Regions from separate parts of the Homo sapiens genome. Here regions 2, 3, 4 and 5 are each linked to region 1. Evidence: promoter capture Hi-C in 16 types of primary human blood cells and fetal thymus (Javierre and others, 2016). All regions are on one chromosome and are shown on one strand. Each heading gives the region's core, a stretch centred on a gene start or on the middle of the fragment in contact. The rest is flanking DNA. Distances are from core to core; before and after follow the strand shown.

Evidence for each region. Contacts are between HindIII fragments. The CHiCAGO score rates a contact against its expected background, and 5 or more counts as called.
Region 2: a fragment that was not itself captured here is called in contact with the fragment with the promoter of AXDND1 in region 1 in 11 of 17 cell types (total CD8 T cells, naive CD4 T cells, activated CD4 T cells and 8 more); the score reaches 17.1 in total CD8 T cells.
Region 3: a contact is called between a fragment that was not itself captured here and the fragment with the promoter of AXDND1 in region 1, in 1 of 17 cell types (naive CD4 T cells). The highest score is 6.2, in naive CD4 T cells.
Region 4: a contact is called between a fragment that was not itself captured here and the fragment with the promoter of AXDND1 in region 1, in 1 of 17 cell types (activated CD4 T cells). The highest score is 5.2, in activated CD4 T cells.
Region 5: a contact is called between a fragment that was not itself captured here and the fragment with the promoter of AXDND1 in region 1, in 3 of 17 cell types (activated CD4 T cells, neutrophils and naive CD4 T cells). The highest score is 6.3, in activated CD4 T cells.

What each region holds. Positions count from the first base shown.
Region 1 is chr1:179,363,265-179,368,078 of GRCh38, reverse strand. It overlaps AXDND1 (axonemal dynein light chain domain containing 1), which reads right to left and starts at 2,108. Exons shown (of 26, transcript NM_144696.6): 1 at 2,079-2,108; 2 at 1,473-1,675. The coding sequence starts at 1,569. RefSeq lists enhancers at 1,708-1,777, 2,158-2,557. The HindIII fragment of the contact is 9,843 bases long and covers 161-4,814 here.
Region 2 is chr1:179,120,000-179,124,813 of GRCh38, reverse strand. ABL2 (ABL proto-oncogene 2, non-receptor tyrosine kinase) reads left to right here. Exons shown (of 12, transcript NM_007314.4): 5 at 2,947-3,219; 6 at 4,540-4,624. Among named protein-coding and RNA genes, the nearest start is that of TOR3A, 40 kb to the right of the region's middle. The HindIII fragment of the contact is 3,901 bases long and covers 554-4,454 here.
Region 3 is chr1:179,138,403-179,143,216 of GRCh38, reverse strand. The region is part of intron 1 of ABL2 (ABL proto-oncogene 2, non-receptor tyrosine kinase); the gene reads left to right. Among named protein-coding and RNA genes, the nearest start is that of TOR3A, 59 kb to the right of the region's middle. RefSeq lists enhancers at 1-574, 3,893-4,399. The HindIII fragment of the contact is 3,277 bases long and covers 799-4,075 here.
Region 4 is chr1:179,177,659-179,182,472 of GRCh38, reverse strand. The region is part of intron 1 of ABL2 (ABL proto-oncogene 2, non-receptor tyrosine kinase); the gene reads left to right. Among named protein-coding and RNA genes, the nearest start is that of ABL2, 50 kb to the left of the region's middle. The HindIII fragment of the contact is 1,030 bases long and covers 2,208-3,237 here.
Region 5 is chr1:179,201,222-179,206,035 of GRCh38, reverse strand. All of the region lies in intron 1 of ABL2 (ABL proto-oncogene 2, non-receptor tyrosine kinase), which reads left to right. It overlaps LOC124900429 (small nucleolar RNA SNORA67), which reads right to left and starts at 4,549; the gene lies at 4,409-4,549. It also overlaps the pseudogene EIF4A1P11. The HindIII fragment of the contact is 5,678 bases long and covers 1-4,814 here.

The DNA.
Region 1 (4,814 bases), core at 859-3,358:
TCTATAAGGAGGTATCATGCTTTGATTACTATCAAAAGTTGTTAGGGTTTACATTACCAAATCTCCTGAGAGCTTGAGATCAAAAGAAACAGAAGAAAAAAAAAAAAGTTGGGTGGGGCTTGGGGTTTTAGTACAAGGTGCAGGTGAGATGGGAAAAGCTTTAACAGAACCGGGTAAGGATAACACTAGCTGACTCTAGTACAGATCCGCATATGAACGAAAATCTTAAGGAATTGCTCTCATTTAGAAAAATTACTAAAAGCTAATACAAATTGGCACATTGTACTAAATTGAGTTTCTCTTATCTCTGCTATTACTTTTTGTTTCTTTATTTACTTATTTGAGACCAAGTCTACCTCTGTTGCCCAGGCTAGAGTGCAGTGGCAAGATCTTGGCTCACTGCAACCTCTGCCTCCCGGGTTCAAGTGATTCTCCTGCCTCAGCCTGCCGAGTAGCTGGGATTACAGGCGAGTGCCACCACACCAGGCTAAATTTTGTATTTTTAGTAGAGACCGGGTTTCACCACGTTGGTCAGGCTGGTCTCAAACTCCTGACCTCGTGATTTGAGACGGAGTCTCGTTCTGTCGCCAGGCTGGAGTGCAGTGGCGCAATCTCGGCTCACTGCAACCTCCACCTCCCGGGTTCAAGCGATTCTCCTGCCTCAGCCTCCTGAGTAGCTGGGACTACAGGCACGAGCCACCACGCCCCCCCTAATTTTTGTATTTTTAGTAGACAGAGTTTCTCCATGTTGGCCAGAATGGTCTCAATCTCTTGACCTCGTGATCCGCCAGCCTCAGCCTCCCAAATGGGATTACAGGTGTGAGCCACTGTGCCCGGCCTATTTATTTATTTATTTTGAGATGGGGTCTTGCTCTTGTCTCCCAGACTGGAATGCAATGGCTCGATCCTGGCTCACTGCAACCTCACCTCCTGGGTTCAAGCGATTCTCTTGCCTCAGCCTCCAGAGTAAGCTGGGACTACAGGCGCGAGCCACCATGCCCGGCTAATTTTTGTATTTCTAGTAGAGACGGGATTTCATCATATTTGGCCAGGCTGGTCTCGAACTCCTGACCTCAAGTGATCCGCCCACCTCGGCCTCCCAAAGTGCTGGGATTACAGGCGTGAGCCACCGCGCCCTGCCTCACTATTACTTTTTCCAAAGTTCCTTAAAGCCAAAGACCAGGAACCAAAAAATACGTAACTATTGATATTTAAAATAGGTTGAATTTAAAATCATATATAAATCAACATTTGAAAAAAAGTATAAACTGTATTTAGATGGAGTAGTGAAACAGTACTCTGACTCAAAATACTGTAAAAGGAATGACTTCTTGCTTTATTTAAGCAAGTGTGTTAGAAAAATGTAGCCAATCAAGGTATTCTGAATATCAGATTTAAAAAACCGGTGAATGGAAGGTGATTTCTGTCTTACGGCCATGACTGTTTATGACTTCAGAATCAACGAAGTTTACCTCTTGTCCCTTCCTTGGCTACAGACACTTTTAACTTTTTGCTCTCAGATGTTGATGTAGAGTTTAGCGGGGTGGAGGGCGTTTTCGGGAGAGACATAATAAACAATGCCTCCTATCTCTTTAGTAATTTGAAATAGTCCTCCGGAAAGCTAATTTAGACACAAATCAGCGCCGCACTGGGACTTGCAGGCTGCCACATAGTCCTGCAGGCAGAGGAAAAAAGATTTAAAAAAAAAAAAAAAGATGACAACTATTGAGTACTTAGGTTCAGATCGCAGTTTAGAATTCATCTAGCATGGTTCTCCTTCTTCGGGGCGACCTCTATGTTCTGGGGTTATGTGTAGCGACTAAGAAGCCTTAGTGGACCGTCAGGTCGGGGTCAAGGAGCAGGGCAGGAAGGACCCGCTCGGCGGACCCCGCAGACCGCCGGCACCCCTGGTGGGGGACACTCGCTGCAGGCGGCTCGGCTGGGGACCATACCTTCCCCACAGGCAGCGCTCTCGCGCGCCAGTTCCACAAACTCGCGAGTTGGGCAGGCCTCGCACTGCTTCTTGGTTTAAAATGACGGGAAAGGGACACCCGCGATCCTACCCACACATTGCGTACCCGCCCAGCATCCGCTCACTTCCTCCTTTGCTGGAACGCCTGTTTGTCGTCATAGAAACCCAGGGCCCCGAGGTTTAGCGCCCTCCATAGGGGCTGCCTTCAGCGGTGCCGGCGGAGGAGGGAGACAGCTAAGACAATCCCTACACCCTCTTGGAGTTTCTTATGTTCTAAGTCACAGCATAGGTTCAGTAGCAAAGGAGAAGAAAAACGTTTAATCCCGCCGTTGTCACGGAATCCGAAAGTGTCTCACGCCGGGGCTTCCTGCCGCGGGCCAGGCCAGTGCGCAGGCGCCGGTGGGGGTTAGCTCGAGGGGCCGACCCCTGTAGCCCGTGACGCACGCGGGTTAAGCAAGGGTCTTCTGAGTTGTTTCCATCTTTCTAGCTCTCTTTTTTGTTGCTTTGCATATTTTTCTTTCTCTTTCTTCCTCTTTTTCTTTCTTTCTCTTTTTTTCCCCTGAGACGGAATTTCCCTCTTGTCGCCCAGGCTGGAGTTTAATGGTGCGATCTCGGCTCACTGCAACCTCCACCTCCTGGGTTCAAGCAATTCTCCTGCCTCAGCCTCCCAAGCAGCTGGGACTACAGGCAGACGCCACCATGCCCGGCTAATTTTGTAGTTTGTTTTTTGTTTTGTTTTGTTTGAGACGGAGTCTCGTTCTGTCGCGCTGGCTGGAGTGCAATGGTGCGATCTCAGCTCACTGCCACCTCCGCCTCCCAGGTTCAAGCGATTCTCCTGCCTCAGCCTCCCGAGGGACTACAGGCGGGGGCCACCATGCCCGGCTAATTTTTGTATTTTTAGTAGAGACGGGGTTTCACCATATTGGCCAGGCTGGTCTCAAACTCCTGACCGCGCCCGCCTCGGCCTTCCAAAGTGCTGGGATCATAGGCGTGAGCCACTGCGCCCGGACGCTTTGCATATTTTTCTAAAAGCCAGACTCAGGGGGATGTTGGGTAATAAGAAACGCTGGGTCCCTTATTGGGTAAGCCGTCCAGTGCTTTACATTTCGGTCACGTCTTCCTTGGACCCTTAAATGCCTCCCCCCAGAGCACAAGGAAGGCCTCCTGGGCCCAGATTTTTCACCCCCTTGGGGCAGGGAAGGAGGATTGAGCTTAGGTGGAACCAGCTCAGGTATAATTGTCGGGGCTTCTGGCGTGAAAATCTGCCCTCAGGAAAGAATACCATCAGCGGCCGGTGGCTCACGCCTGTAATCCCAGCACTTTCTTAGGCCGAGGCGGGTGGATCACGAGGTCAGGAGTTCGAGACCAGCCTGACCAACATGGTGAAACCCCGTCTCTACTAAAAACACAAAAATTAGCCAAGAGAGGTGGCGCGCGCCTGTAATCCCAGCTACTCAGGAGGTTGAAGCAGGAGATTCGCTTGAACCGGGGAGGAAAGGGTTGCGGTGAGCCGAGATGGCGCCACCGCACTCCAGCCTGGGCAACAGAACGAGACTCCGTCTCAAAAAAAAAAAGAGTATCATCAGAGCCTTCGCACTGAACTGAGGCTCGGTTCGGTGAGGGATCATTTCTTTTCTTTTCTTTTTTGAGACGGAGTTTCACTCTTGTTGCCCAGGCTGGAGTGCAATGGCTCGATCTCGGCTCACCGCAACCTCCGCCTCCCAGGTTCAAGCGATTCTCCTGCCTCAGCCTCCCTAGTAGCTGGGATTACAGGCATGCGCCACCACGCCCAGCTAAATTTGTGTTTTTAGTAGAGACGGGGTTTCTCCATGTTGGTCAGGCTGGTCTCGAACTCCCGACCTCAGGTGATCCACCCGCCGCGGCCTCCCAAAGTGCCGGGATTACAGGCATGAGCCGGATCGTTTCATATTAAGGCAGAGATTTAGTGCCAAATAATGAATCGCTGGGAGAAGCCCAGCGTCTAGTTGCTTCCAGACAGGGAGGAAACTTTATCTTATTCAATCACCATATTCCTTAGCACCAAGTAGAGTGCCTGGACAAACATGAAAATCAGTTGGACAGTTCTCTTCTGTGTTGACAGAATTACGGCTATTTTCTGGTTTTGAGTGTAATAGCTGTGAGAAATTCGAGCAAAGGGTTCAAAACAAGTCTACATGGTCCCTTTGAACTCTTCCGATCAAACATGTTGGGTGTGTTAGCATTTTAGCCTTTAGCCTTATCTCCCATTACCCTAATTTTTCAAAGAATTAAAATACACATAATAGCATTATAGAGCACACAAAATTATCCATCTTTTGTATTCTTAACCTAGTTCAAAAAAATCCAAGTACAGTATTAAGAAAGCAGATAGAAATAAGTGAACACATTCTAGAAAAACACATAAAGTATAATCTAAAGGATTTAGGAAGTGATTAGATCTGTGAGACATCAAAGGTCTCTTTTCTGTCTTGTGCTGTGGTATGGTGATCATACATAATGTCAGAGGAGTTTGAACCATAGCAACTCCATCTTGAATAGGCACTGGGTAAAATAAGGCTGAAACCTACTTGGCTGCGTTCCCAGATGGTTAAGGCATTCTAAGTCACAGGATGAGATAGCAAGTCATAAAGACCTTGCTGATAAAACAGGTCGCAGTAAAGAAGCCGGCTAAAACCCACCAAAACCTAGATGGCCACGAGAGTGACCTCTGGCCGTCCTCACTGCTATACTCCCACCAGCGCCATGACAGTTTACAAATACCATGGGAATGTCGGGAAGTTACCCTTTATGGTCTGAAAAGGGGAAGAATGAATAATCCACCCCTTGTTTAGCATATCATCAA
Region 2 (4,814 bases), core at 1,255-3,754, 240 kb after region 1:
TAAAACAATACATATTGTGTGATTCTGTTTGTGTATAGTTCAGAAGCAGAGGCCAGGCATGGTGGCTCACACCCGTAATCCCAGCACTTTGGGAGGCCGAGGTGGGCCTCATCACTGGAGGTCAGGATGTCAGCCCCACAAACATGGTGAAACCCTGTCTCTACTACAAATACAAAAATTGGCCTGGCATGGTGGCACGCGACTGTAATCCCAGTTACTCAGGAGGCTGAGGCAGGAGAATTGGTTGAACCTGGGAGGTGGAGGTTGTAGTGAGCCAAGATCGTGCCACTGCACTCCAGCCTGGGCAACAGAGCGAGACTCTGTCTCAAAAAAAAAAAAAAAAAAAAAAGCAGAAGCTAATCTAAGATGTTAGAAGTCAGCATAGTGGCTATCTCTGCAAGGGCAAATAGCTGGAGAGCATAAGGGAGGCTTCTGGGGTGCTGATCATGTTATAATTCTTGGTGTGGGTGATGTTTACATGGGTGAGTTTACTTTGTAAAAATTATCAATTTTCTGTTTATGAATTGATACTTTATACACTAAAACAAAAGCTTCTTTTTTTTTTTTTCTTTTGAGATGGAGTCTTGCTGTGTCGCCCCGGCTGGAGTGCAGTGGCGCGATCTCGGCTTACTGCAAGTTCCGCCTCCCAGGTTCACGCCGTTCTCCTGCCTCAGCCTCCTCAATAGCTGGGACTACAGGCGCCCACCACCACGCCCGGCTAATTTTTTGTATTTTTAGTAGAGACGGTGTTTCACCATGATAGCCAGGATGGTCTCGATCTCCTGACCTCGTGATCCACCCGCCTTGGCCTCCCAAAGTGCTGGGATTACAGGCGTGAGCCACTGCGCCCGACCAAAAGCGTCTTTAAAAAAAATAAATAACAGGCTAGGCATGGTGGCCTATGCCTGTAATCCCAACACTTGGGGAGGCCAAGGAGGGTAGATCACTTGAGCCCAGGAGTTCAAGACCAGCTTGAGGAATATAGTGAAACCTCATCTCTACAAAAAATTTTAAAAATTAGCTGGGCATGGTGGCATATGTCTGTGGTCCTAGCTACTCGGGAAGCTGAGGCAGGAGGATCACCTGAACCTGGGAGGTCAAGGCTGCAGTGAGTCATGATTGTGTCACTGCACTCCAGGCCGGGCAACCGAGTGAGACCCTTATTTCTCAAAAATACATAAAAATTAAGGCTCCCTTGGGAGAGAAGTCCAGAGAATTCCCTCTTACTTTACATTTCTTATTGCTTAGCAAATTAACAACTATTTTGTAAGCAATTCTGTGAAATCCAGTGTGGCTCTTTTCTTTTTTTTAGATGGAGTCTTGCTCTGTCACCCACTCTAGAATGCAGTGGCGTGATCTCAGCTCACTGCAACCTCCACCTCCCAGGTTCAAGCAATCCTCCCACCTCAGCCTCCCAAGTAGCTGGGACTGCAGGCACGCACCACCAAGCCTGGCTAATTTTTGTATTTTTAGTAGAGAGGAGGTTTCACCATGATGGCCAAGCTGGTCTCAACTCTTGACCTCAAGTGACCTGCCCACCTCAGCCTCCCAAAGTGCTGGGATTGCAGGTGTGAGCCACTGCTCCTGGCCACCGGTAAATTGTGGCTCTTTCTTTAATGGCCTAGACACTCAACTGCACGTCATAATTAAAATTATGAGATATTTGAATACTCTTACCAAAAAAATCTAAATCAGTGGTTTTCAAGTTATGTTTTTTACAAGATTAAGGTGATATTTTGTAAATTTCTACAAGAGGCCAAGTCCTTGCTTGCCTACTTTGATCAGGGTATCTCTTCTTTACGTATCTTCTGTAGTTGAGTCCATAGTCTTGTGGCTTAAAAATATTTGAAGACTGGCCGGGCGTGGTAGTTCACACCTGTAATCCCAGCAATTTGGGAGACTGAGGCAGGCAGATCACTTGAGGTTAGGAGTTCCTGACCAGCCTGGCTAACATGGTGAAACCCCATCTCTACTAAAAATACAAAGAAAAAAATTAGCCAGGCGTGATGGCGCATGCCTGTAATCCCAGGTACTTGGGAGGCTGAGGCAGGAGAATCACTTGAACCCAGGAGGCGGAGGTTGCAGTGAGCTGAGGTCATGACACTGCACTCCAGCCTGGGCAACAGAGTGAGACTCTGTCTCAAAAAAAAGAAAAAAAGAAAAAGAAATATATATTTGAAAAAATACATAATTTGAGTATATATATATTTGAAAATATATATATATTTGAAGACCAATGAGCTTGATTATCCAGAGAGAGATCTTGGAAGGTTTTTCCCAAGACTAATTTAGGAAGAATAGGAAAGGCAGATTAAATAAGATTAAACTGAAGTTCTGTGTTTACCCTTGCAATCATCATTTAACTTTTTTATTTACCTCAATTAAGATAAACTCTTGCTGGGTATACTGGCCCAGTCTGTAATCTCAGCACCTTGGGAGGCCCAGGCAGGAGGATTGCTTGAGGCTGGCGTTTGAGACCTGCCTGGGCAATAGTGAGACCCTGTCTGCAGAATATTTTTTTTTTTTTTTTTTTTTTTAAAGATAGCCTTCTATCTATATCTTCAGGCCAGTGAAATATGGGCTTTAAAAAAGAATTCCTAGGCCGGGAGCGGTGGCTCATGCTTGTAATCCCAGCACTTTGGGAGGCTGAGGCCGGCAGATCACGAGGTCAGGAGATCAAGAACACGGTGAAACCCCATCTCTACTAAAAATACAAAAAATTAGCCGGGCATGGTGGCGGGCGCCTATAGTCCCACCTACTCAGAGAGGCTGAGGCAGGAGAATGGCGTGAACCCGGGAGGCGGAGCTTGCAGTGAGCCGAGATCGCGCCAGTGCACTCCAGCCTGGGTGACAGAACAAGACTCCATCTCAAAAAAAAAAAAAAAAAAAAAAAAAAAATTCTTAATCTCTTTTCAAGTTGTTTAGCTTTTCTCCTTTTCTTACCAGGTGTATGTGACTGCTGAGAGCCGCTTCAGCACCTTGGCAGAGCTTGTACACCATCACTCCACAGTGGCTGATGGGCTGGTGACAACATTACACTACCCAGCACCCAAGTGTAATAAGCCTACAGTCTATGGTGTGTCCCCCATCCACGACAAATGGGAAATGGAGCGAACAGATATTACCATGAAGCACAAACTTGGGGGCGGTCAGTATGGAGAGGTTTACGTTGGCGTCTGGAAGAAATACAGCCTTACAGTTGCTGTGAAAACATTGAAGGTGGGTTGCTGAGAATTACAGTTTTCAGGCATCTTTTTCTTTTGTGCTCAATCACTTGGAAATATCAGCATGCCCTTCTTTAACTTTGGAACACTTTCCACCCACTAGTGCCAAGCACATCAGCAAATTGAGATGATTAACCCTAGTGCCATTGCTGACAATGCAGAGGTAGATTATTCACTGCAATGCAGTGAAACCCACATGTGGGAAAGGTCTGTCTCTGGAGGCTGTTGATGTAGATCTTAGTGGGAGGTTAGAAGCAAATTAAAAGTTATAAAAGCAAAATAAGCTCTTTTGCTTCCTGAGAACGACCCCTGCTGGACAGAATTCTTGTCTGAGAGTCATGGGCCTCTTTCTTGTTCTGTCCTTTCTCTCCCTTGTTCTTGTTCCTCCTGTCTCTTTGCAGTTAGATCACTTCTTAATATTAACAGAAATCTTTTTCGTAGTACTACTATATGTCTCCTTTAAACATCCCAGTATCAAATTATAAGGTTTTCACTCACTTGATTCTCCCAGAGCCTCAGTAACTGTCTCTGGTGTATCACTTATAAGGGCTATTCTTTAGCTATTAAGTAGTAGTCAGTTCTGTTTCTTAAGCATATTCTGAGTGTGAAGCAATATATAAGGCCTTGCTCTCTAAGAAGATTATGATCTAAGCAAGAAGATAAGTATGTAAGCAGCTAAGTGCTCTGTCTCGTCATTCAAAGCCTGAGATATCTGGAGAAGTAAACTATGAGAGAACTGAACTATCCAATACAGGGCTCCTGTGTTTCAGTTGATTATAGGACACGATTGCTGAATTTTGCTCCTCCTGCTAATTTTTACTCCAGGGCATTTTTCTTTCTAAGTTGGACTTCTTAAAATAATAATTATTTCAGCTGGGCGTGGTGGCTCACACCTGTAATCCCAGCAATTTGGGGAGCTCAGGTGGGCGAATCACCTGAGGTCAGGAGAGCATCCTGGCCAACATTGCAAAACCCCGTCTCTACTAAAAATACAAAAAGTAGCCAGGCATGGTCGTGCATGCCTGTAATCCCAGCTACTTGGGAGGCTGAGCCAGGAGAATCGCTTGAGCCCAGGAAGCGGAGGTTGCAGTGAGATCACACCACTTCACCCCAACCTGGGTAACAGAGCGAGACCGTGTCTCAAAAAAATAAATTAAATTAAAATAATAATTATATCTTGTAATATGCTAAAATATTCAAAAGATAGTTTTTACTTTTAAAGCTGAAGCTTTATGATTGTGAGATGAATGAAATGATTTTAAGTTGAGGGTTTGTCCCTCTCGTTTTCTTCTTTCTTACCTTTCCCTTTTTCTAGGAAGATACCATGGAGGTAGAAGAATTCCTGAAAGAAGCTGCAGTAATGAAGGAAATCAAGCATCCTAATCTGGTACAACTTTTAGGTGAGGAACCTTGCCTGAACCATAGATTTCCTCCAAAAATGCTTGCCCTTTAACCCCTTGTTATCTCCAAATGCTTTTTTTTTTTCTTTTTAAATATAGAGACAGGGTCTCGCTCTGTTGTCCAGGCTGCTGTTGACGTGATACTTCCGCCTGGGCCTTTCAATATGTTGGGATTACAGGCATGAGCCAC
Region 3 (4,814 bases), core at 1,188-3,687, 230 kb after region 1:
CACTCTCCACCCACTTTGGGAATTGTGAATGCTCACCATTTTATTGGTTCCCTCTGGCCACTGAGTACATGAGTAAATGTCACATGCATGTGGTATTGCTTGTCAGAGAATGGAATTCTAAGACTTCCTCTTTACACAGAACAGTTTAACTTTTGTGCTTCTGGGCAGAGGTATGGTCCTTGGGACAGTTCTCCTTCCACCTAATAGTTATGGCAGAGATCAGGACACTTCACTTTGCTGCCTGTGCACTGAGGCCTCAGAATCTGCTCTACCCGACTTAACAGGTATGGTTCAGAGTTGATAGTTTCAGGGAGGCTTGATAACCACATTAATCAAGTGTGAATGAAGATTTCAAAAAATTCATCTTATCTGCTACTGTTTTTGTCTTCATTCTTGGTCAGTGAAAGTTTGTGTGCTTTCTTGGGGGAATATCTCATAGTAGGATCTCAATAAATACTGAATGGAAGAATGTATGGATAATATGTAGTATTTTGTAATAATAAGATATAGATGGCTTGATGTGAAGAACTTAAGCTATATTGAAAACTGTTGAATAATTTACCTTACATAATTTTTAAAAGAAGTTATTAAAACTTATTAGCTTCTTAGAGAATATACAGTCAGATAAAGTAGAATTCTGGCAAGATAATGTTTATAAAATACTTGAAAATGCCTAAACTAAAAATTTGTAATATTAATTTCTCCTATTACTACCTGACAAATTTCTAATTAAACTGATAAAAGTTACTGAATGACTAACTGGTGAAAAGTATTTTTAATAAAATTAAACATGAAGCTTAGGAATTTTCTCAATTTCAGTTTTATTATTTTGGGTTTTAACTTTTTCAATCATGATAATTTACTTTGTACAAGTGGCTATTCTGTTTTGCTTTATTTTTGTTGTAGCCTGCAACTGTAGCAATAGAAAAAAAATGCCTTTTTTAAATTGTGATAATATATTTCTGTTATCTAGGTTCTTTACATGTGAGTGAAAATCAGTCTTCTCTTATCCCATCTTAAATCTCTGATCTACCTCTATAGCAGTGAATAATGGAAGATAAGTTAACTTGATATCTAAGTTACCTAATTTATAGTAGTCATTTCATTTTGTTCAAAAATAAACCATTCCCAGCCCACACACTTGCATTTGGGCGTATACAGTACATCTGAATCATCCAGACATGTCTGTCTTAACCAATGAGGAAAGTGACATAGACTATAGCTACTGGGTAACACTGACATTTACTTGCTCTTCCCACAGGCTTTTGTTTTCTTTTGTTTTTGCCTTTATCCCTTATCTTGTTCCCCCTCATTTAGTTCCCTTACTCTTTATGATTCAAAATATGTTCGTTCTTAGCTTCAGAAAAATGTTAGGGTGTTTTTCTCTTTGAAAAAGTTTTCCTTTTGTTTGGTGCTAATGGGTAGAATGGTGTTTAAGTGGATATCCTGTGCAGACAGATTGTGCAGGAAATTGACCCTAAGTTCTTTGAGAACAAAAGAGGAGTGGGAAGAAAGAAGAAAGGAAGGAAATAAGATCTTTTGACTCAACCAAAAAGACCGTAAAACCAGAGACGGGAAGAAGGGGAATGGGGAATAAGAAGGATTGTTTTCTAAGTTGTGGTTCTTTTAGTACTTTGGCCTCAAAAATTACTTTTATCCTATAGTTATTACTTTACATATTTCAGAAATATAATATTGTTTGGCCTGCATATATCTTCTAAATTTACATAAAATCGTGCTGTAGATCTCATTCTGTTTTCTCCTTTTGTCAGATAACACAACTTTCAGGAAGTTGACTTGTCTTTAAGAGTCCTCTTTTGGGTTCAGAGTTTCCCCTTATTATAAACATGTCCTTGCGTATTGACAGTCTGTCACTCTACTGTCATCAGTGCAGAATTCCTATTAATCTAATTTTTTTTTTTCTTAAAGACAGGGTTTTGTTCTATTGTCTAGATTGGAGTACAATGGTGTGATCTTGGCTCACTGCAGGCTCAACCTCCCAGGCTCAGACAATCCTACCTCAGCTTCCTGGGTAGCTGGGACTACAGTTGTGTGCCACTATGCCCAGCCAATACTTAATTTTTTTTTTTTTTTTTTTTTTGAGACAGAGTCTTGCTTTGTCACCCAAGTTGGAGTGCAGCAGTCTGATCTCAGTTCACTGCAACCTCTGCCTCCCGGGTTCAAGCAATTCTCCTGCCTCAGCCTCCCGAGTAGTTGGGATTACAGGCACCCGCCACCACACCCAGTCAGGGTTTTGCCATGTTGGCCAGACTGGTCTCGAACTCCTGACCTCAGGTGATCCACCTCGGCCTCCCAAAGTGCTGGGATTACAGACGCTAGCCACCACACCTGATGAAGTCTCATGATGTTGCCCAGGCTGGTCTTGAACTCCTGGCCTCAAGTGATCCTCCCGCCTTGGCTTCTCAAAGTGCTGAGATTATAGGCATGAGCTACTGTGCCTGGCCTGCGTTCATCCAGTTTAAATGTTTATCTAATTTTAAGTCTGAAACCTTGCCAGACTCTAGAGTTTTGTTTTATATTCTTTCCTCTCATAGCATCCTCTGTGAGTAAGGATGTATACATAGTTCATTCATTCAGCAAATCTTTTTTGAGAGCCTCTTATATGTAGACACTGTTCTGGAGTCACTGTTCAGTGAACAAAACAGACAACAATCCTGGTCCTCATAAAACTTACATTTTAGCAAGGAGACTTAGATACATGAATATAATAATAAATAAGTAAATTATACACTATGTTTGGTGGTAATAAGAGCTATGGAGATAAAATAAATCAGGAAAGGAGTCAGTGGGGGATGTGAGAGTGTTATCAAGAATAGATGTACTTTAAAATGGAATAATCAGAGAATGACATACTGAGAAGGTAACATTTGGTGAAATGTCATGGGGAAGAGTGTTTTAGGCAAAAGGAAAAGCCAGCGCAAAGGTCCTGAGGCAGAAGTGTGCCTGCTTTGTTCAAGCAATAGCATTGATGTCAGTGGCCAGAATAAGGTAGAGGAATAGCAGCAGGAGATGCTGGGCAAGACCAATTGTGAAGGACCTTGCAGGGCCTTTAAGGATTTTAGCTTTTACTCTAAAATGGGGAACCTTTGAAGAGTCTTGAACAGAGGAGTAGCAATCTGACTTATGCTCTGAAAGATGGCTGGTATGTTGAGAATAAACAGTAGGGAACAAGCACGGAAGCATGGAAATCAGGAGTCTAGTGAAATAGTCTACATCAGTGGTCCCAACCTTTTTGGCACCAGGGACCAGTTTCATGGAAGTCAATTTTTTCACAGACTGGGTGGGGAGCGGTGGTTTCACATGAAACTGTTCCACCTCAGATCATCAGGCATTAGATTATCATAAGGAGCATTCAACCTAGATCCCTTGCTTGAGCAGTTCACAGTAGGTTTCAGCTCCTGTGAGAATCAAATGCCTCCACTAATCTGACGGGAGGTGGAGCTCAAGCGGTAATGCTCGCTGGCCCGCTGCTCACCTGCTGCTGTGTGGCCCAGTTCCTAACAGGCCACAGACCTGTCTGTGGCCCAGGGGTTGGGGTCCCCTTACCTAGATGATGGTGGTCATGAAGTGGTACTGAATGAGAAGTGGTTAGATTCTGGATATATTTTTGAAGGCAGTGCCAATGGAATTTCTGAGTGAATTGGATGTTGTTTGTGAGAGCAAGAAGGGAGCTGTGTCCGGAATTGGTGGGTTCTTGGTCTCACTGACTTCAAGAATGAAGCCGCAGACCCTCGCGGTGAGTGCTACAGCTCTTAAGGTGGCGTGTCTGGAGTTTGTTCCTTCTGATGTTCAGATGTGTTCGGAGTTTCTTCCTTCTGGTGAGTTCGTGGTCTCGCTGGCTCAGGAGTGAAGCTGCAGACCTTTGCAGTGAGTGTTACAGCTCTTAAGGTAGCGCGTTTGGAGTTGTTCGTTCCTCCCGGTGGGCTCGTGGTCTTGCTGGCTTCAGGAGTGAAGCTGCAGATCTTTGCGGTGAGTGTTACGGCTCATAAAAGCAGTGTGGACCCAAAGAGTGAGCAGTAGCAAGATTTATTGCAAAGAGCGAAAGAACAAAGCTTCCACAGTGTGGAAGGGGACCCGAGTGGGTTGCCACTGCTGGGTGGGTGGCCTGCCCCGCGGGAAGGCAGCTAAGGCCCAGCGAGAAATTGAGCGCAGCACCGGTGGGCTGGCACTGCTGGGGGACCCAGTAGATCCTCCACAGCCGCTGGCCCAGGTGCTAAGTCCCTCATTGCCCGGGGCTGACAGGGCTGGCTGGCTGCTCCGAGTGTGAGTGCGGGGCCCGCCAAGCCCACGCCCACCCGGAACTCCAGCTGGCCCGCAAGCGCGGCAGGCAGCCCCGGTTCCTGCTGGCGCCTCTCCCTCCACACCTCCCTGCAAGCTTGAGGGAGTGGGCTCCGGCCTTGGCCAGCCCAGAAAGGGGCTCCCACAGTGCAGCGGTGCGCTGAAGGGCTCCTCAAGTGCCACCAAAGTGGGAGCCCAGGCAGAGGAGGCACCGAGAGCGAGCGAGGGCTGTGAGGACTGCCAGCACACTGTCACCTCTCAGAGCCATGAAGGATTCCATGGTTTTTGGCCTCAACATTTGAAAAGATGGAATTGCCATTAACTGAAATGGGGAATTCAGTGAGAGAAACAAATTTGGAGGGAAGGATGGATGATAGTTTTGCATATTGAGTCCCAATGGTGTTATTAGTGATTTCTCATCTTTATATTCTGAAGCCCAGCACAGTGCCTTGCATGTGGTATTCACTCAAATTACTAGGGATTTCTTTTTCCCCAATAAACATTTAAAATAATTA
Region 4 (4,814 bases), core at 1,473-3,972, 190 kb after region 1:
TGGCTTAGTAAGAAAGGAAGCTATTAGGAGTTTGAAAAGAGAGGAGAGCATATAATTGTCTAGAAAGTGGGAAAGTGAATGGACTAGAGAAATACAGTATGATCACCAGGCAGTGTTAAGGGCTCATTTGAGGCTAAAGGTTCTGAGTTAAAAGTGAGGCCAGTCAGCTTGGTTTTGTGCTTTTTTTTCTCCAGCCACCTTCACTTTAGGAGTAGGAGAATAGTTGAATTTACCCAGCTTGTGGTTCTGCAAAGTGAGTATGTCCAAGTGAGAGAGGAGCAAGTGATTATAATGATGGACCATGGAACTTAAGCTGGTAAGGAGGGAAGAGAGGACTTCACAGGGTGAGAAACAGTGAAAAGATAGTTTGAAGATAGGCTGGGTGCGGTGGCTCACGCCTGTAATTCCCAGCACTTTGGGAGGCTGAGGCAGGCGGGTCATGAGGTCAGGAGATCAAGACCATCCTGGCCAACATGGTGAAACCCTGTCTCTACTAAAAATACAAAAAAAAAAAAAAAAAAAAAAATAGCCGGGCCTGGTGACACGTGACTATAGTCCCGGCTACTCAGGAGGTTGAGGCAGGATAATTGCTTGAACCTGGGAGGCAGAAGTTGCAGTGAGCCGAGATCATGCCATTGCATTCCAGCCGGGGCAATAGAGTGAGACTCTGTCTCAAAAATAAAAATAAAATAAAATAAAAATTAAAAAAAGATAGTTCAAAGATAGCGGTCAGTAGATGGGAGATCTGGTGGGGTCACAAGATTATATGAATTCGTGTATTAGAAAGAATGAGCTGGAAATATAAAACATGGTATTCAAAAAGAGTTGCATGAAATTGAGATTATTGACAGGGTGCATTAGAGTGTGCTGAGTTAGGGTTACATTTAGCTCTTTGCTTTTCACAGCAGCACCATGATATAGATAGTGTAAGCATCATTAAGCATGTTTCATAAATGAGAAAACTGAAGCTCAGCGAGGTTGGGCAGTTTTCCCAAGGTCACAAAGCTGCTGATAGGCTAGTTATTTAGGACTCAGATCCCATTACTCTGATTCTCAATACTCACTCCTCTACCATACTATATCAGTTTTCTGAAAGTTAGTAACTTATTTCCCTATCTTTGCACCTAGATTGCAATCTCAAGTTGAAACTTTTGACAAATATACATTACCAAAATTATTTTCCTCTTCAGAAATCTTCAGACTCTAATCTTAGGGCAATGTTGGAGGGGTTTACTGCCACTATTTTTACCTAGCTGATCTTATTGAAAACACACATATATTAGAGGCTTAAATATGATAGTTTTGTTTAAACTCCGTTTCATAATGGGGCTTAAGGTGGGTGGAAGATGGAACAAGAAGGAATGTACTGTTCTTTCAGCAGCATGCCTGGACAGACAGCTGTACTGTTAGAATGTGTCCAAATCCATGTGTGTTCTTTTTGGTGGCAGTTTGCACCATTGCAAGTCTAAAGGATAGTTGGTTATTGGATGTTGTCCATTTGGGATATGATTCTCTTCTTTCCCCCAATGAAATAATTATCACGCTTTTTGCATTTTTGCACATTTAGCTTTGTGGTAGGGGGCGGACTTGGAAGAATTCTTTAAATGTGAAGGAAGAATGGGGGAATTATTATTAAGTATACTCTGAACTGATCTTTATCATTTTAAATGACAGAATAGAAAAATGTTTCACCTAAATTTCAGATGGTTTTTTTCTTTTAAAAATTATTTTAAATTGTGATAAAATAAACACAACATAAAATTTACTTTGTTATCAGATGTTTTAATATCCTCTATTATTTTGTTGGTATAATGTTCTGTTTAAAATATGAATAGTTCCCTGGAGGTGACCCTTATGCACCTTGGCCACGGGAACTCTCTTTCTTCTCTGTTACTTTTCTGTTTCCTACCTGCTACTGGTACTGGACCTTTTTATTCCACTAGTGAAGTCTGATGATAGAACATGGGGGTAGAGAGGTGGTAGGCCTTAGCAGCAGAGTCTCATTCAGTATCTGTGAAACATGGGACATATCAGCTCCTTCCTCTCCTCTAGAACCTTCGTGGCAGCTCCTCAGAGGGAACGTATAAGAAAGCCTGAGTCAGGGTATATACAACTCTGATCTTATTGCTTCCTTGCTTACCAGCTTTTATTGATTTCTTACCATCTTCAGAGTGAGGTCCCAACTCCTTAACAGAGCATCCAAAGCTTTCATAATTTGGTGCATTCCCAATCTCATACATGCTCCTGAGGCTGTAGCCATACTAAAGTACAGGTGGGCCTGTAAATATAGCCTGTCCTTGGCATACAGTAGGTGGTCCAGAAGTATTTCCCCCCTTTTTTTTTTTGTTTTTTTAAGACAGGGTCTCACTCTGTCACCCAGGCTGGAGTGCAGTACCCAGGCTGGAGTGCATGGCTCACTGCAGCCTCAACCTCCCTAGGCTCAAGTGATCCTCCCACCTCAGCCTCCCAGGTAGCTTGGATGACAGGCGTGTGCCACCAACACCTGGCTAATTTTTTTTTTTTTTTGTATTTTTAGTAGAGACAGGGTTTCGCCATGTTGTGCAGGCTGGTCTTGAACCCCTGACCTCAAGTCATCCCCCTGCCTCGCCCTTCCAAAGTCCTGGGATTACAAGCATGAGCCACTATGCCCAGCCAAGACATATTTCTTGAATGAAAGAATATAGTATTAATATATATCACAGTTGTACTATTTTACATGCTAACTTGCTTTTATTCAGTGGCTAACTCTTGAGTTTCCTTTAAGACTCAGGCCAAGAGTCCTCTTTCAAGAGGGCTTCTCTGCGTTTTGTGTATCCTAGTAGACACTCTTGCTCTATGATACCAAAAACATTCAGGCCATATCTCTGTATTATAATAGCTGATTTACTTTTTTGTTTTTCCCGTATTAGTACATGAGGTTCTTGAGGGCCAGGGACCATGTCTTATTTTTACCTTAGTACCCCCTAACTCTGGGCCTGTTCTTCCTAGGTACTTTCTATTACAAAAAAAAAACCCTTTAAGATAGCTGTTGCTCTTGTTTCCTAATATTTACATTATATAACATTATATATTGAATATCTCGGCTTTTAAATTTTATTTTTTTGCCTTTTCAAGGTCAAAATTGCTTAGACACTTGACTTGTGAAATAATCAGTATTCCAATGAGTATAAATCATGACAGTCATAATTAGTATAATGTGATTGCCTATTATGGGATTGGGACGTTGGGTAGGAAGCTTAGAATTGCAGAGTTAATCCTCATGTGGAGGAATTATCTGAGCACTTTAAATAATTGGACAACATTATATAAGCCTTACCCTTTTAGGTCTGAGTTTTGCACATTTTAAACTGGTGACTCATTAAATTGTATTCCTGCTTAGGATGTAACTGTTGTTAATGTAGTTGTGTTTCCTAATTTCCACTGTTTTATCAATGCTCCTTTTCTTTTATACTCTGATGTCAAAAGTTATGTAATCTGGGTATTCCTCAGATTTAATGACTTGGTCAGTGGGTATTAACATTATTTGTTCCTATAAGAAGGCTTTATTTTAGATGTTCTTCCTTTTCTTGAGACAGGGTCTTGCTCTGTTGCCCAGGCTGGAGTGCAGTGGTGTGATCATGGCTCCTCAACTCACTGCAACCTCCACATCCCGGGTTCAAGCAATTCTCCTACTTCAGCCTCCCGAGTAGCTGGGATTACAGGCACCCCCCCCAGCCCACCACACTCAGCTAATTTTTGTATTTTTAGTAGAGGCGGGGTTTCACCATGTTGGCCAGACTTGTCTTGAACTCCTGGCCTCAAGTGATCCACCTGCCTTGGCCTCCCAAAGTGCTGGAATTACAGGCATGAGCCACCATGCCCGCCCGATGTTCTTACTTTTTAAAGTCCAGATCTTGATACTTTTGCCATAAGTTTTTATTCTCTCTGTTCCTAATTTTAGTTATAAGGTCATTTAGTTGAAACAGTGGACGAGGAAACTATAAGCTTACTAAAAATGCCTTGGGTTTCTGGAGCATGAATCTGCATACTCTAAAGATTTCTTACACAAATAATTTTTTTTTTTTTTTTTTTGAGGCAGAGTCTTGCTCTGTCACCCAGTCTGGAATGCAGTGGCGGGATCTCGGCTCACTGCCACCTCTGCCTTCTGGGTTCAAGCAAGCAATCCTCTTACCTTAGCCTCTCAAGTAGCTGGGACTGCAGGTGCATGCCACCACACCCAGCTAATTGTTGTATTTTTAGTGCAGACAGGGTTTCACCATGTTGACCAGGCTGGTCTGGAACTCTTTACGTCAAGTGATCTATCCGCCTCAGCCTCCCAAAGTGCTGGGATTACAGGCATGAGCTACTGTACCTGGTCACTACAAGCTTTAATATAGTTGTTACTTTCAGTAGAATTTTGGCATGTTGGAACTTGAACCTTTTATTTCCAAAATTTGTGTATTCCATTTTATGTAATTATATCCCTGCAGAAATATTAGTATAGGCATATTTACATAGCACCTTAAATACATAGCAGAATGTTTTATACATACAATGAGTAGGGAGACCAGAGTCTTGGATCCCGTATTGTGGGTATTCTATTAGAAGTCTGTGATGCCCAAATGGACCATAATTCATTACGGAAAAGAAATTTTAATAGCAATTTTTCCCTTGGTTACTGATGACTGAGGTATGAGAAGTTCTTATTCTCCAACCAAAAAGCTACTTTTATACTGGTTTCATAACCTCTTAATACATAGTCTAACTTTGCAGAAAAGGACTGTCCACTTTTTATTCTTAAATATTTTAAAAGTTGATTTTACCACCTGTGGTTT
Region 5 (4,814 bases), core at 1,333-3,832, 160 kb after region 1:
ATTCAATGTCCTTATTTGTAAAATAGAGATGATAATGATACCTATCTAATAGAGGGCTGATGCAAGGATTAAATTAGTTAAGCTATATAAAGTGCTTAGAAAAGTACTTAGCCTGTAGTTGGTGTTGTATAAGTATTAGGTCTTTATTTTTTTGCTGTTATTGGCAGGGCTAGTTCCTCTTCATTGTTATTTTTTCAGAATATTCCTGGCTGTTCTTGTTTGCTTACATTTTATTTTAACTTTAGAATCAGTTGGTCTGTCTAATCAGGATAGACTAGGTAATAAGTTAGTATCCACAACAACAATCCCCCTTACCCGCCCTCCCTAATCTCAGTGGATTAACACATCCAAAGTTTGTCACTTGTAATACATGTCCCATATGGATCAGGAGGTGGGTCTTACCCCCTCAGACCCCCCAAAGGAGGTGGGAGGTGGGCTATACCCATTTTTTATCACCCAGAGACCCAGGCTGACAGAGTCTTCAACCATCGTTCTAGAAAGCTGGCAGTTAGCATTGCAGAGAGAAACAGAGTAATGAGTCAAGTACTAGTGGAAACTAAAAGCCAGAAGGGATATATGTCACTTCCTTTTATATCTCACTGGCCAAAGCAAGTCATGTGGTCTCATGTAATGCCGGGGGGCATGGAGAAAGTGTAGTTTTGTTATGTGCCTGGGAGGGCAGCTGGAAATATTTGATGAAGAGTTGTAATGGGCCGGGCGCAGTGGCTTATGCCTGTAATCCCAGCACTTTGGGAGGTTGAGGTGGGCAGATCACGAGGTCAAAAGTTTGAGACCAGCCTGACCAACATGGTGAAACCCCGTCTCTACTAAAAATACAAAAATTAGCTGGGTGTGGTGGCACACACTTGTAATCCCAGCTACTCAGGAGGCTGAGGCAGGAGAATCTCTTGAACCCAGGAGGCACAGGTTGCAGTGAGCCAAGATCACGCCACTGCACTCCAGCCTGGGCGACAGAGTGAGACTCAGTCTCAAAAAAAAAAAAAAAGAAAAAGAGTTGTAATGACTTTGCTCTGCTGGTTGCTAAATATTTGGGTCACCCATTATGTTACATGCAGCACTCTGAGCCCCTTCGTTGGAGACACTACTCATGTTTCTATCTAGTAACTACATTTATCTGAAACTCTAGAATAACCGATGTACAGAGTCTATTAATCAGATTCAGAGGAGGTTTCTCTTGGTCTAGACAACTGTGAATGAAACAAATAAGTTATCAGTTGGTCTAAAACAATCATCTTAGTTTTTTTGTGTGTGTGTTTGTTTTGCTTTTTGAGACAGGGTCTTGCTCTGTCACCCAGGCTGGAGTGCAGTGGCGTGATCTTGGTTCACTGTACTCTCTGCCTCTCAGGTTCAAGCGATTCTCATGCCTCAGCCTCCCGAGTAGCTGGGATTACAGGCATGCGCCACCACCTCTGGTTAATTTTTGTATTTTTTAGTAGAGAGGGGGTTTTGCCATGTTGGCCAGGCTGTTCTTGAACTCCTGGCCTCAAGTGATCTGCCCGCCTCGGCCTCCCAAAGTGCTAGGATTACAGGTGTGAGCCACCAGACCCAGCTCATCTTAGTATTTTTGTAGGTTCCTTGCTGGGTGGGAGTAGAGATGCGGAGGGAACTTTCACTTTTAACTCTGCATATGTCTGTGTTATTTGAATATTTTTTTGCAGTGAGCAGATAGCATGTAAAAGGAAATATTTTGCCGGAGGTGGTGGCTTATGCCTATAATCCCAGCACTTTGGGAGGCAGAGGCGGGTGGATCACCTGAGGTCAGGAGTTCGAGATCAGCCTGGCCAACATGGCAAAACCCTATTTCTACTAAAAATACAAAAATTAGCTGGGCGTGATGGCGCCCACCTGTAATCCCAGCTACTCGAGAGGCTGAGGTAGGGGAATTGCTTGAACCTGGGAGGTGGAGGTTGCAGTGAGCTGAGATCAGGCCACTGTACTCCAGCCTGGGCGACAGAGCGAGAGACTCCATCTCTAAATAAATAAATAAATAAATAAATGGAAATATTTTAAAAGCCTAAAACTTTTAATCCTCACATCAGCTCTTTCTATTAGATAGGTATCATTATCATCTCCGTTTTACAAATAAGGACATTGAATTACTGGGATGTTAAATAACGTGCGCAAGGCCACACAGCCAAGGAAGTAGTAAAGAGAAGGGTCAAAGAGCCAGGCAGTTTAGCTCAAGTGTACTGCCTTAACCACCAGGCTATGCTGCCTGTTATAAAAATGCAGTATTTAAAACAGCGTGATACTGGCACGTAATTTGACAAAAGAATTCTCTTATCCCAATTTCATACTAAATGAAATAATGTATAGCATGTGGGGCCAGAGCTGGAACATGAGACCTGAGACCTAACTGTAAGCTATTGCCTACCAAGATGCCTTTCTTAATGCATGGGCTTCTTTGCATAGCTTGTTACAATAATACAAATAGAGGTTATTTTTTTTTTCTTATTTGCAGTGAACATAGCAACAAAAAAAAAAGACTGTTTACTTTGAGAAGAATGATCTTTGGGATAATAATACTTGAAAATGAGGGATGATCCAGGAAAGTTACCTGGAGAGGATGACCTCAGTGAGAGGGCAGTCTGTACTGATAGGGAGGGTGATGGTGCATACTAACTGGTTTCCAATTTGAAGATCTTTTCTGGAGTACTTAGTTGTATTTTATTTATTTTGATCACTGAGTTTTAAGGAAACAGCTTACAAAGGCAACAGAAGAGAGGAAAACCTTCATTCTTTGTGCAAGTATAAAATGTTTATTAAAACACAGAGATTTTGTTTTGACGTTAGGAAATAGAAAAAATATAAGCCATTTATATACTACATTCTTCCTTTACTTCTCTGATGGGAAATGAAAAAAATGATTTGTTCTTTTTACAAATGCAGTATGTTTTATTACGGGAAAAAATCAAGCAAAAACTAAAAACAAACCCCATACCCACTTTCCTACTGGGAGACAACAATCTAATAAAAGTTCTGGGGTGTATCCTTTTAAGCCTCTTTGATGTGTGTATCATTTTGTATTGCTAACCAAAACATATACAAAGCAATTTTTTGTTGTCATTTTTCACTCATGTATTTTGAACCTTCTAAACTGGAGATCTTAAATTGAAGGAGAAAGGGTTTTTGGTGGTTGGTTTTTGTTTTTACCTCTTTTTAGAACTTACTTCACATTTATTTCTTTTCACACTATTTAACATCCAGTACTTTTGTCTTACAATTTTTATTGTTATTTGTTTCTTCTGTTAGATTCAGTTCCTTGAAGGCGTCTGTATTCTTCATTCTGTTGAGCTCATATTAAGTTTACATGAGGACAGGACATATGTTAACAGAAGTGATTGTAGGGGAAAAAGGCAGAAGACATTTCAGCAGTTATTTCAGGGTACAGATCAATCACTGATTCACTTACAGTCCAGTGTTACTTAATTTGCTGGTGTAACCAAAAACTAAGGAAGTACACATTTGTATACAGGTATTTAGGCTCCTTTCCTATTTTTTAAGCTGAGGTAAAATATTCTTGTGATGTTAATTTTTTTATGTGACCTGTTGAACAGAACATACTCAGTCTAAGATACTGTTAACTATTGAAAACAAAAATGTGTAGGAGGACAGCAAGGCTAATTCCTTTTAAAATGTCATGAGTTAATTTCTTTTAAGAAGAGGGAAGCGTGGGTTTCCTGACTAGTTTTTAGGTGGTGATTTTTAAAAGAATAGCACTTCCATATTGTTAGCAGCTAATCTGGAAATTTGCATATTAATTGGTAATAAGCAGAAATAAGAGCCAAGATTTTCTTTTCTTTGCTGAAAAAGTATTAATAGTTACCAATTCTGTTACAGTATAGAAGACCAATAATGATATATATGTTAAATTGCATCAAATGATATTTATCCCAGTGTGCTGAGATTATTTTTTTTTTTTACTATCTTTAAATCTTTTTTTTTCTTTTGCCTCAAAAAGTGACATTTATTCAAAGAAAAAAAAATGACAAGATGTCCATCCCTTGGCTCCCTTCCCTCTCCTCTCCTGCTGTTCCTCGGACCCCTGAGATTGAGCCCTGGCTGGGGTTGGGTGGCAGGACAGCCCCTCAGATGAGGTCGGCAACATTGAGGGGCATTTCCTCAATGGAGGTGTTGTAGAGGGTCTTGATGTCTCAAAGAGTCCTTTTGTCTTCTTCTGTCACCATGTTAATAGCCACACCTTTATGGCCAAACTGTCCACCTCAACCGATTCTGTGGATATAATTTTCCCTATTGGTGGGAAGGTCATAGTTGATGACTAAAGAAACTTGCTGCATATCAATGCCTCTGACCTACGTCAAGAAAGACAACTCTTCAGCATGTGCACAAGAGGACACGCTATCCCGAAAGGAAGACTCTTGGGTATCCATGTAGGCAGCCAAGGAAGGCAGAGGAAATAACCAGCCCTGTTCCCCAAATGCCTTAGGCATGCCAGATTCTGTTCCAGGTTGCTACTTTCCTGAGAGGGGCACTGGATGTTCCCCTTGGAGAGGGAATCACCTTGGATTACTATCTTTAAATCTTAAAGGGATTTTTCTCATAGATATTCTACTTAAGTATAGACAAATAATTTAATCATCCCATAATGTATCCACCATATTTGTGGCTTGTAAAAGTTTTAAAAGTTGGGCATAAGTAGCTGATAAGTTACAAAAAGATACAAATTTCAATAAGGTAATTTTAGTTAAAGTGACAGGAAATGGGGGTGCATTTTGAATAGAAAAACACAGAACTCCAAAAACAAGACAAAAAACCATGTTATTTCCAAAGAG